Regions from separate parts of the Homo sapiens genome. Here region 2 is linked to region 1. Evidence: promoter capture Hi-C in 16 types of primary human blood cells and fetal thymus (Javierre and others, 2016). All regions are on one chromosome and are shown on one strand. Each heading gives the region's core, a stretch centred on a gene start or on the middle of the fragment in contact. The rest is flanking DNA. Distances are from core to core; before and after follow the strand shown. Region 1 holds the start of LPGAT1 (lysophosphatidylglycerol acyltransferase 1). Region 2 overlaps LOC124904506 (a long non-coding RNA gene).

Region 1 (6,534 bases), core at 1-2,500:
AGGTCAAGGGAGCTGTTCACCGAGGCACGAAGTATGTCACAATATATTTAGCAAATGATAACACAATTCCCATTCAGTAATCGGTGGCCGTCCCCGCACCGTGTCTCACTGCGGTCGTCTATTGGACTTAGAAAAATAGATCCACTCGCTTCAGACAACCTCAGGATCTCCAAACTGAAGACACAAGTGACATGACCGAAACAGGGTCCCCTCAATAAGATTTCCCAGATACTGAGGACCTCAGTCTCCTCACCACCACGATTCCTGCACACCGATGCATTCCTTTAAAAGGTCTCTGGCTCTAGCGAAGAGTTACCCTCAAAATTCTCATTTGTAGCAATAGGGTTTTTGTTTCCCTTTTTTTTTTAAGAAAAAAAATGGGGGGCCTAGAAAAAAAGCTTACAAGGTGAGAGGAAGAAAGTAGGGGGTTATAATGCGAAAAAGAGGAAGGACAGGAGTAGGGGGAAGGGAGCAAAAGCCAGAAAGAGGTAAAAGCCAAGGAACTGGGGATGAAGAGAATGAGATTTCCGACCAGAGGGCAAGGAAGCAGGGGATGATGAAAGGGGCAGAGAAGAGGCGACCGCAGCGCGGGGAGCCGGTGGAGCCTGCAGCGGTTTCCGCGGATGTGGAAGGGTCGTGGCGGCGGGCGCGGCCCGCGCGCCGGGCTCACCTCGGCGGGCGCGGACGGCGGGCGGCTGCGGAGAGCGGGGGCGGGTGTCCCCCGCCGAGGGGTCGCGGTCATGGACGCGGTGGCGGCCCAAGCGGCCCGAGGCGCTGCGCGAGCGGGCGCGCTGGCGCCCTACTCCCCTCGCGGCTGCCTGCGGACAGAGGGACGGCGGGGACTCAGAGGCCGGACCTGTCACCCGGGCGGGTCCCGGGGAGGCGGGCGGATGCCCCGCGCCCCCGCCTCCTCCCCGGGGCCTACCGCGCCCTCGTCCCTCAGGCCGCTGCCGCCTCCCCGGGCCACGCGACGACGACACCCCCTTCCCCGCCCCCAGCGCCTCCCCTGGCCCGGCTCCGCTGCCGCTCTGGGGCCTGCGACCGCGGAGCCGGAGGTTACCTCGGGCTGGCCGGGCCCCAGCCGGGGCTTTGGGAGTCAGAGGAGCCGGAAGAATGCATGGCCGGCGGCGGGGCCGGCGGAAGAAGGCGGTGGCGGGGCCCTGCCCCGCTCCGGCTGTGGCGCGGCCCGCGCCCGTTCCCCGGCGGCGCCGAGACTCGGTCCCCAAGGGCCCGGCCGCGTTCGCCCGGACTGGCGGGGAGGGGCGGCGGGAGGAAGCGGCGGGAGTCGGGACTGCGGCGGAGCCGCTCCCACAGCGCCCTCTAATGAAAGCGCCGCCGCCGCTGCCTGGCCCGCTTGCCCCGCCTGGCCCGCTCCCCCTACCCCTGCGCCAGCGAGTCGGGGCCCTCGGGGCTACCTGGACGCTCGGCCAGGACCTCAGTGAGTCCAGAACATACTGAGGGAAAGGGCCGCTCGGAAAGATCTAGGAATGAACACCCATCCTCACACCCCAGGAGTGCCTTGGTTTCAGTTGAGAGCCCCCTTTCAGCCAACACGGCCGCCTTTCATTGTTAGGGCTCTCTTCTCTGCCCAAACTAGGAACCTGTCTCCTTGACGGCTAAATGTCCACTTTTCATTCTTAATGAAACCCGGTTGCACTCATGGCTTTTCTTCTTAACCTCTGCAGTGTATTATTGTCTAGAGTTTCAAATTCATTCTTTTTACGGTCAAAAGTCTTGTTTCAGGAAAGCAGCTGGAACATTAATGGCAATTCCACTTTCCCATTCATCGCCCCCGCCCCCACCACCCCACCAAGAAACTCAGTGGGAATGAATGGTCTACACAGAGAAACTGAAATCTGGTTAGTCAAGAAGGAAAAAACAACCAAGTGCCTGGCATTAAGTAAGTACTCACCCGCCCGCCCTCCCCCGCCCGCCATAAAAAGAAAAACCGAAAAGACAAAAAACAGTGGCCATGGGAACTCCTAGACAGACCCCGTCACTTGGGATACTATAGCTGCATTCTGGTTCAAAGGCTGGACCACCTGAAGGAAAATAGAGAAATAGTCCATTGACCTACCCCCTTGAGCATTCTTAAATGATCTGCCTAAATTTTAGTTTTTAAAAATCCTGTTTATAAAACCTTATGTCCCTTAAGCACATTTGTAAATGGAGGGGATGGGGCAGGGCAGATTTCACACTCCCTAGGGAACTGCCATATTTGAATCAGAATGCCACCTATTCTGCCTATTTTGAAAATGTTCATCACAGCGTTTGCTCTGGACTCTCAACTTTCTCTAATTTCAGTTCCTCTTAGGTCCACAGGTGAAGGAAAGATATGCCCCATTCTATTCCTTGCATTCTCTCTTTATTGACAAGGTAGTAAGATCTTTAAATAAATCTCATGAGAGAGATAATATATATACTTTATTATTCAAAATATGTCATTATATTCTTCAGTAAGATAGGTGAGGTACATATTTATTTCCACAATCAAGAATAAACTCTAAGGATTCCATCTGGTCCATGCAATTCAGCTTTCCCACATGCTGCGTAAACGTTGGCTGACACCTGGAGAGAGATAACCTACAATGGGATTTACACGTGATTCCTGGATCAGGGACCATCTGCCAGAGGACCAGACACAGCAGCACTTGATGAAATGCAATTAGTACCAGGCCCAGAATTCATTTTCAGGCTCAGAAAAGAGCCAGAGGTTGGGCAGGACCTCTGGCTCTTTAGTGTACAAAAACAACACTTGAAGTGTCTACCAAAGAGACAGATTCTTCAGCATCATACCAGAACATTTTAATAATCTAGGTCCAGTGGACCTGAGAACCTGCTTTTTAAAAAGCGTCATAGGTGATTCTGATGCAAGTAGTATGCAGACCTTGCTTTAAGAAACCCTGACTTAGAGGTATTCTGAGATGATCACATTCTCTTCTAGACCCTTCATAATTTTAAATCATTTGATCATATGTGTTCTCATGTGTGTTAGTCAGCTAGAGCTGCCATAACAAAATACTGCAAACTGGGTGGCTTAAACAACAGAAACTTATTTTCTCGAAGTTCTGAAGGCCAAGATCAGAGATCAAAGTGTGGGGAGGTCTGGTTTCTTCTGAGGCCTGTCCCCTCGGCTTGCTGATCACCATCTCTCATTGCAGAATTCTGCCATTTCAGTACCTCCTTATGGAAGGAGTAGGGAATACCTAATCTCCTTGATCTTTTCAGATATCCTCATATTAACTGCTTCCAACCTCATTGGACTTTTCTTGAAACTCAACCAACAGTACAACACATTATGTTCCAGGTATAGATATGCCCTGGTTTTGTGCCAAGAGTGTAGGAGAGGGGTTATCTTCTTAACTTTCTGACCACAATATCAGTTTCAAGATAATTCAGCTGCTATAATAGATAAGAAACTGTTAGGGCTGACTTCTTAAGGGAACAATTTCAGATGATGCTTGTGTTTATTTCTTGCATTTCGAAGTTCGTTTTAGTTAGTTTTACCTTCCTCTTGCCTATACTACAATTTTTTTGCCCTGCCTCCTTTCAACCACTTAGGAAGCCTCCTGAGATTGTTCCATAGCCTATTTTATTGCACCATGGACAGAGAGATGTATGAATGCTCTGAATGACTGTAACAGGAAGATTGGAACAGCCAGTTCTCCAGGGTAGACTGTTCTGTGGAAAACAAGGATCTTCTTCAATGACTAGTTAGCTTCTAGTCCCCTATCCTGCTACCTTAGAGCCATCTTTATCAAAACACAAACATGAAGCCAACAATTTCAACACCTTCATGTACACTCCAATAGAGAAAAGAGGGAAATGAACAGACCCCACCCTATAGCCACAGACATTATTGTTTCTGTTTCAAAAGCCCACATTTGAACCACAAGAGAATGGTCCTTTGAAAAAGAAAGAGGATTTCTTACATTTCTTGGAATCGCCAGTCATTTGAAAGCAATATAACCACAATACCTTAGAAGGTTGAATTCCACCCATCTAGTCCACATACACACAACAAATTAGGTTATAACCAGGGAGAGGTTCCCTTGGGCAGAAGAGTACCCCCTGGGCCCTCTCTTTTTCCTAGTGGCAATTATAAAAACATTTTACCTACCTGTGTTGGTTTCTGCACTAAAGCTCCAGTGAACTATTTCCTGTCTAGGGAGAAACCCTACCAGCAATAACCTTCAATGACTTGGCACAGGCCCCCTACATTGCTAGGAAACAGTTGCAGGCTTGAAATCAGCAGCCCAAAAGAGTCATGCATTCTGACTGTTGTCAGCTTTAACTTCAAACAAAAAATGGAAATATATATGGATGTTCTCTTCTATATTCATGTCAATAATTATTTTATATAAAATGCTCCAGGGCTTATAACCTTAAAATTTTTCAGATAGGGTGAGCCAAATCATCCACACTTGGCTGAGTGTGGTGGCTCACACCTGTAATCCCAACACGTTGGGAGGCTGAGTCAGGCAGATCACTTGAGGTCAGGAGTTTGAGACCAGCCTGGCCAACATGACGAAAACCTGCCTCTACTAAAAATACAAAAATTAGCCGAGCGTTATGGCACCCGCCTGTAATCCCAGCTACTCGGGAGGTTGAGGCACGAGAATTGCTTGAACCTGGGAGACAGAGGTTGCAGTAAGCCTAGATCATGCCACTGTACTTTAGCCTGGGCGACAGAGCAAGACTCTGTCTCAAAGAAAAAAAAAATCCTCCAGACTTGACTGCAACTCTCAGCCATTTCAGCAATTCTTTTTATTAACATGATTGACCCTAAACAATACTATAAAGTAAACAATTGTGTCTCCTCCATGCTCCTCTCCTGTTCGGCTAGCTTCTCTTTTCCCTTCTTAAGGCTAAAATTATCCCTAGTTTCCAAAGGGCCCTGAAGACTCCACATGAGGCCTCCCCCTGCTCCCCAAACAGATAATACTCTAAGCTAGAACCTTCTTTCTCACCTGTCCAATGTTATGTTTCCTTGGCTCAATCCTTATCTCCCCTTCCTGGTGTGGTCAGCTAATCCATGACAAGGGGCTTATGGCTAAAAAATGGAAGAGAGAACTCTCTTCCTAAAGCATTAGTATTTTATACAGAAACTAAAACCCCCAAAGCCTTAATGTATTTCTGCTGGCAGATTATCAGGTATTGTAATGGATGAGTATATTTGTAAGATGTTTTGGAGAAGGATATTTTGGCAAGTTCTTCTACTCACAGAACCTATAAAATCACATAGTACACCTATGAATAAGACATAGTTCACTCACTCATAGGTGGGAATTGAACAATGAGAACACATGGACACAAGAAGGGGAACATCACACACTGGGGACTGTTGTGGGGTGGGGGGAGCGGGGAGGGATAGCATTAGGAGATATACCTAATGCTAAATGATGAGTTAATGGGTGCAGCACAGCAACATGGCATATGTATACATATGTAACAAACCTGCACGTTGTGCACATGTACCCTAAAACTTAAAGTATTAAAAAAAAAAAAAGAATCCTAACATTTAGAATAGAATTTTAAAATGCCAAAAAAAAGCAAATTCAAAAAAAAAGACATAGTTCAGATTTAAACTTGCATTTTCATAACATAAGATTCAAAATATTACGTTAAAATAATAATAATCACTGGCACTTATTGATCACTTTCAACAATCCAGGCCATGTTCTTGGTGCTTTACATACATTAATTCATTTAATCTTCACGATGACTTTTTTTTTTTTTTTGAGACAGGATCTCGCTCTGTCTCCCATACTGGAGTGCCGTGGCCTGATCTCCGGCTCACTGCAACCTCCACCTCCCAGTCTCAAGCAATCCTCCCACTTCAGCCTCCCAAGTAGCTGGGACTACAGATGCATGCCACCACGGCCAGCTAATTTTTTTGTATTTTTTGTAGAGACAGGGTTTTGCCATGTTGCCCAGGCTGGACTTGAACACCTGAACTCAGGAGATCCACCTGCCTCAGCCTCCCAAAGTTCTGGGATTACAGGCATGAGCCACCGCACCTAACCCACAATGACTTTAAAAGGACCGTATTGTTACCCACGTTGTACAAATGGGGAGATTAAGCTATTTGCCCTGATTTCTACCCTGTTCCTCTGTCCTCACCTGCATCTCCAGGAGACCACTGAATCTCACATCTCAAGCTTTCTTTCATGTTGTAACTTCAAGTCCTATCATTGACAGCAAGCCCCTAACTTCTGGAAACTTTTATCTCCTAAGTACCTAAGTTTCTGAATTTCCCCACAAATATATATATATATATATATATATATATATATTTTTTTTTTTTTTTTTTTTTTTTTTTTTTTTTGAGGCAGAGTCTTGCTCTTTCACCCAGGCTGGAGTGCAGTGGCGCAATCTTGGCTCACTGCAAGCTCTGCCTCCTGGGTTCACGCCATTCTCCTGCCTCAGCCTCCTGAGTAGCTGGGACTACAGGCGTCCGCCACTATGCCTGGCTAATTTTTTTGTATTTTTAGTAGAGACGGGGTTTCACCCTGTTAGCCAGGATGGTCTTGA
Region 2 (6,534 bases), core at 1,890-4,389, 630 kb after region 1:
ACACTGTGACACATGCTCTGAACGACACAGCAATGCACAGTGGTGGAAAACAATAGGAGAGCAGAGGGACCTAATAAGACAGAATGAGCTGGGATTAAGCAGAGACCAGAAGAATGTGTTTAGTGTGTGCCTCCTGTTGGTAAATGAGCTCTGTTGTGTTCACTACACACTGGGCAGTTTGGTGCAGAGCTTGCTTTTCCCTGGGCCTCTACTGGAGTCCCCTCCAGGAGACATGGGGTGGCTGCTGTTGACATTTTCTCCCTGAAAGCCCAGGTATCTCTCCAGAGATGGAGAACTCTGAGCTTCCTTTTTACAGAAAGGACTCAAACTGGTGGCTGTTTGGGGATGGGACGATGATGGGTGATGTTTGAGGCCGGAGTTTCAGAATCAGAAAAGTCTCTGTAGTCAAGGCCTTGAGGTTTGCTGACTTTGCGTGACACCCAAAGCGTAGGACCCACAATCAAATCTGTGGAGAGGGCGCTTGTGGTCCATGTGTAGGTGTATACCTGTGAGCATAGGCAAGTGTGCGTGCACACATGTGTGCATGAGAGCAGGCTCAGGCTTCAGCTCCTGGTCACTCTAGTCCTTCTTCTATTCTCTCTTCTTTGATGGTAGGGCTGGGACTTGGCAAACCACTTTTGGCTTTGGCAGCTGCTTCCTATCGGATTCAGCCAGTAGGGGGTGCTAGAAGGACACTGGAAAGCTGGAGGGAAGCCCTCTTTTTCTTGTTTACTTCTGTTCTTGTAAGCGGCTCCGGTAGTACTTCTTCACCCCGGCAGCAGCAGTTCCTTACCATAGCAGCAGCTAAATTCAGTTTACAATCTTTCTAACACTTGTAGAACTAACTTCACCCCTAATTCAGAGGCCAACACCAGCCGGCAGGCACCCCCCACCTCACCAGATGTCTGGTTCCAGCCCCACAAGGTGCTCCTGTCTCTAAGTTTTAATCATTCCAAATGCACCCCTTTGCTGCCTCGTCCTTGGGGTGGTAGTGCTTCCTCCATGATACCTTCTTAGCATCTCTGACATTAGTGTTAAGGGGTCCCAACCCCTAACATGAGTTTCCTGGACTGTGGGGGGCCTTTTGTGCCCTTCTGAGCCCTGGGGAGATCAAAAGCAGTTGTCTAACCCCTCGGTGGTTAGTAACTGCTCTACTCTGAGAAAGAAGGGCTGGCTTATCCTTGGAGAGGCCAGTAATTCTGTTCTCAGCTCTTCTCTCTGCGGGCCTCCACATCTCAGGAAGAAAGGACAGGTGCCATCTCAGTTCCAGTCATCTTAGCACACGCCTCCCTCTCTGCCTCCCTGCTGATCTGCACCTTAGCTGTGGCCTGGCCTGGTCTCAAAATGCTCCCAGGAGGAGAGGCCATGGCCTTCTCCATGCCCACCCTCCCTCACCAAGTGTGAGCAGAACTGATGGAGAAGCTGGGCCGAGGGAGGAGAGAAACTCGAGTGGGAGACCTTGGGGCCGTTGGGAGAGGGTACAGAGAAGGTTGCTGCCTCAGATGCCGTGGGTTTCTGTTTCCTTCCCCATTAGTGTCTTTCTCATGGAGAAAATCTGTTTTCCTTGAAGTAACTTGACTGAGTCTTTGACTGGTTCTCCTTTGCAAGGTGAACCCAAGAAAGAAAAGAAAAGACAAGGAACCCAACATCCACAGAGGACCTGCTATGTGGCAGGAAGTGCTGGGAGCCCTGAACACATGTATGGCCCTCCTCGAGGACTGACTGAGCAGCTCTGGCTGATGGGGGTGTGGCTGAGGGGGAGGAGGGGAGGGGCTAGGAAGACAGTCTCAGAAGAAAGAATAATGAACACTAGATGTGAAAACTTCCACAAAGCAGGTGGCCCACCAGGCAGGATCAGAGCAGTTCCCTGCCATTATAGAGTTTCCTTTTGCCTAGCTCTTCTGTGTTTGTATTGGGGTGGTGTGTGTGGGGGGAACACAGTTTTGTTTTGATCATTTATAAAGCTTTACTGAGGTATAATAGATACACAAAAAAATCACATACATATAAAGAGTACATCTTGATGAGTTTGGACATATGCATACACCTGTGATACCATCACCAAAATTTAGGTACTAAACATCTCTATCGCCTCCAAAAATTTCCTTGTGTTCTTTTGTGTTTTGGTTTGTTTTTTTGGTAGTAGGAACACTAAACATGAGATCTATCCTCTCAACATATTTTAAAGGGTGCAATTCTGTATCGTTATCTACAGGCACCATGTTGTACAGCACATCTCCAGAACTTACTCATCTCGCATAACTAAACTTTATACCCATTGAGCAACATTTCTCCATTTCCCCTTCCCCCAGCCCCTGGAAACTGCCCTTCTATTCTCTGCTTCTATGAGTCTGACTATTTTAGATACCCATTTAAGTGGAATCATGCAGTATTTGTCGTTCCGTGTCTGGCTTTTTTCACTTAGTATAAAACCCTCTTGGTTCCTCATGCTGTTGCAATTGGCAGGATTTCCTTCTTTTTTAAGGCTGAATAATATTCCATTGTATGTATTTGTCACATTTTCTTTATCTATTCATCTGTTGATGGACATTTGGGTTGTTTCCCTATCTTGGCTATTGTGAATAAGAAAAAAATACAGTTTCTCAACCCAAAGCAAACAAAGAAACATTGTGCAAAATATAAGTGTTGACAGAAAGGCAGGCCGGGAGGGTAAACAATGGCTGGCATACAGCACAGATCAGGCTTCTGAGAGAACCGTGATGCCCCGGGCACACCTCTTCTGCCAGGACTAGCTCACTGGGGGAATTTGTCAGTGCTGTGCAGACCCATAGGTCTCACCTGGTTCTGGTTTGTAGAGGGAGGCAGTGGGACCCAGGCCCACCAGTGGGAGTTCAGAGCCTGCTGTCAATTCTGCCTTTTCTGCCAGGGCTGTGTCTGAAAGGACTGATAAAAAATGCTCCTGTGTTTGGCTCTCTCTGCACCATTTTAAAACTCTTCGATAGTGATCAGCACAGCTATTAAAAGTATCAGGTGGAAATCAGCCACTCAGGGCTGACAGGTGGCTGATTCTGACCCCCACTCCCCAGCCATACATGTCTAGGGTAGAAACCGGTCACATAAACAGGAACTACAGTCTTTCTCAGGCTTTGCACTTGTCCCAGCCTCTGAGCAGGGCCTCTGGGCCTCCCTTTTGGGCTTGACCCAGCAAGCATCCTACCTGAGCTCACTCCTCACCTGCCCAACTCCAGCGATCTGGGGTGATATCTGCAGGAGCTGCCCTCAGTGCCTCCAAAGCTCGAGAAGGTGCTACATCACAGGTAGAGGGAGGGATGCTGCCTGTGAAGATTTCCTCCCCCACAGAGTGTCCCGGACTGCCGTGGTGCATGGCGCCCTCCTTGGAGGGGAGACACGTGCATCTGCCCTGGGCCACATGTCAGTTCTGACGCTGCATGGCCGTGTGCTCCCTGGGTCTCACCAAGATTCTTGGGCGAGCAGCCTTCCCTGTAGTCTCCTTAGGCTCAAGCCTTCAAGGACTAGGCTAGAGGCTGACCTGAGTGACCAGCACCAAGCGGTCCTCCAAGCTGTCCCTCCTCCTGGACCTCCCCAGCGGGGTGCTCATCACTCTCAGACCAAGACCTCTAGTCTTTCTCTTGGGATGAGTTATTTCTCATCCTTAGTCTCTCACACCAGTGTACTCCTGGGGTCCCAGCCCATAAGACATGTCTGAGTCTCCCCTATGCAAACACCCCACTGTGCACAGGTGTTGTTATCCTCATGTTGTGGGTGGGGAAACTGAGGCTCTGAATGTCAGATGACTTGCCTGAGGTCACTCAGAGTCTCCAGATCCCTAACACTGAGTCAGCCCTATGCTCACCACACAACGCTGTGTTACACACCACCTCACGGTTGTGGCTAAAAGTTATGCTTTGAGGTTGTCACCTGGCTCTGTCCAGGGACCCGCAGGCTGTTCTGAGGTTGGACTTTGGTGGTTCCCATGTAGGCCCAGCATCAGAATTGCCTGTGAAACTTTGAAAAACTCAGGTGCCAGGGCCTAAGCCCAGGGAATTCTGACTCACTAATCCAGGTGGGCTCAGGTGCACAGGTGTCTGTAGAGTCAATTCTCATTCTTCATGGTAGTTATGTTTTATAAAGTCTCTGTGAACACTGAATGAGCAGATACTGAACCTTTGCGCCTAGGGGAAACACAGGGTTAGATTTCTGCCTGCCTCTGGTTACAACCAGTACATAGCCTTGTTTTATGTGTATTTCTATTAAAGACACCTTCTTTACTCTCTACGGTTGACTCATTGACACTGAACTCATGGTCAACAGCACCATAACTTGTGTCTGAAAGAAGCTTGTCTGATACACGTGTTTTCTCTGTATGGGACATCACGGCCTTCTTGTGCTTAGGAACAAACACCAACACTCTGCTTGGGGGACATTAATTTTTTTTTTTATTTTCATAGGTTATTGGGGAACAGGTGGCATTTGGTTACATGAGTCAGTTCTTTAGTGGTGATTTGTGAGATTTTGGTGCACTCATCACCTGGGAAGCATACACTGAACCCAGTTTGTAGTCTTTTATCCCTCACCCCCTTCCCACTCTTTCTCCCTGAGTCCCCAAAGTCCATTGTGTCATTCTTATGCCTTTGCATCCTCATAGCTTAGCTCTCACTTATGAGTGAGAACAGACAATGTTTGGTTTTCCATTCCTGAGTTACTTCACTTAGAATAATAGTCTCCAGTCTCATCCAGGTTGCTTCGAATATGCTTAGGGGACATTTTAAACAGTGAAATCACCAACACAAAGCACAAAAGCATGAAAAATGTGGCACCAAATAGCCTGCGAAAAGGACACTTGTTTGCATTGTGGGAGCTGAAGCCAGCAGGCTGAGCGGGCCTTGTTCCACCCCCGCTGGGAATGTGCGTGTTGAGCAGCCCTCATTCTTCCCCACTCTGTGTGTGTCCGAGAATGACCCCAAAAGTGCAGCCAGTATTGATTTTGGGGTTACAGATACAATTTCGCAGGTAGGTGAATTTGTACATATGGAATCCATGAATGGTGAGCATGGGCTGCATTTTGCAAGCTCTGTTTGCCCAGTGGTGAGCTGGGTCTCACAGCAACTGGCAGCAAGAGTTGACCAGGCATGAGGATGGTGCAGGGGAGCCATGGAGTGGGGGCCTGAGTTGCTGTGGAGGGTCGAGAGGGCAGGTTGGCTGGTGCCCATCGAGGACTGGGGACCCAGCAGTGCAGCCGCTGCAGGCTCTGGGCTGTGACTTCTGGCTTGCATCAGCACCCAAATCACCACAGATCTTGGACTTCCACCCTCAGTGGGCTGATAATTCAAAATTCACAACTTGGTTTTCCCGTAGAAACCGTGTTATGAGCGGTGGGTTAGTCCTCAGCTTGGGTCACAGAGGCCCATGTCACACCTGGTTAGACAAAAGGGGTCAGTGAGGCATTGGGGGACCCACCACACCTGAAGCCACCCCAGCAAGCCTCCCCCAGGGCTCAGGGCTCAGGCTGTGAGAAGGAGGGGCTCCCTCTGCTCCTCCTGGGGTCCTGAGACTGAGGGGTTCCTCCAGGAATCTCTAGGGAAAGGTGAAGGCAGGAGTACCAGACAGGCAGTGGAAGATGAGGTGGCAGCCAAAGTCAGGGTTTCAGTGGGGATGGGTTACAGGCATCTAGGGCAGGGCGGTGTGGAGTGGATAGGAATACGTGAGGAGGGGCCAAAGAAAGGAAGGTTTCTGCAGCCACAAGCTTCTCTCCGCCTGCTGCCCTGCTTGGCCATGCACATTGTCTAAAGTCACGGCACGGGCAGAGGAGCCCCAGCCTCAGGGCAGCTCCGTAGGAGTTTCCCAGGTTGCAAAGCTGGATCCATGCGAGACCTGAAGCTGAGGCCAAACTCTGCACGGCCTCACTAGCTCTTGCCACTGGAGCTGGACACTATATCGTTGGGATGCCCTCTCCCAGCCGGAGCTGACAGGTGGCTGAACACCCTGCCCCTGCCTCAGACACTCTTGTTTGCCCTGTCCCCACAGGTCTAGCTGCAGTGAGGATGAGGAGTGGTTCAGAAGGAGCATGAGGCACAGCCTGTGAGGTGGGGCCCAGAAGATACTGACTACTCATTAATACCTAACCTTGCTTTGTCTGTATCCACGTAAAGACACCTCGTTTACTCTCTATTGTTGGCTCATGAGCGTTGGACTATAATTCATGCCTGATTGAAGCTTACCTAACCCACGGACGCTCTCTGTAAGGCACAGTGCAGCCTTCTTGCCCTTAGGAACACCCCAAGTTTGACTTGACCCCTCATCCTCTACCTGACCCAGCCTGTTCTGAAAGTAGATAAACAGAGCTCATGGGGAACATTCTTTCTCCAGGAAGATCAAAGGAGGACGAGGGTCCTGGCCAGGCAGTGCTGAGGACTGGCTCCCAGGAGGACTAGGGCCTTCCCTGCACTGGGGAGGAAGGAGGTGTGAGGGTAAAAAGGCCCCAGAGCTGAGCTGGGGAAGGGGGATTCTGAGCCGCTCTATGCATACCAGCTCTGACAGCTGGTGCCTCCGGGG

The links. The method cuts DNA at HindIII sites, captures the fragments that hold promoters and counts their contacts. A CHiCAGO score of 5 or more calls a contact.
Region 2: a contact is called between a fragment that was not itself captured here and the fragment with the promoter of LPGAT1 in region 1, in 1 of 17 cell types (fetal thymus). The highest score is 6.1, in fetal thymus.

What each region holds. Positions count from the first base shown.
Region 1 is chr1:211,829,513-211,836,046 of GRCh38, forward strand. It overlaps LPGAT1 (lysophosphatidylglycerol acyltransferase 1), which reads right to left and starts at 1,251. Exons shown (of 8, transcript NM_014873.3): 1 at 1,061-1,251. It overlaps LPGAT1-AS1 (LPGAT1 antisense RNA 1), which reads left to right and starts at 1,449. Exons shown (of 6, transcript NR_135820.1): 1 at 1,449-1,528; 2 at 1,744-1,900. RefSeq lists a silencer at 676-1,435. The HindIII fragment of the contact is 5,763 bases long and covers 397-6,159 here.
Region 2 is chr1:212,457,270-212,463,803 of GRCh38, forward strand. It overlaps LOC124904506 (a long non-coding RNA gene), which reads right to left. Exons shown (of 2, transcript XR_007066870.1): 2 at 4,396-5,397. Among named protein-coding and RNA genes, the nearest start is that of LINC02771, 12 kb to the right of the region's middle. RefSeq lists enhancers at 3,758-3,927, 4,723-5,237. The HindIII fragment of the contact is 2,354 bases long and covers 1,963-4,316 here.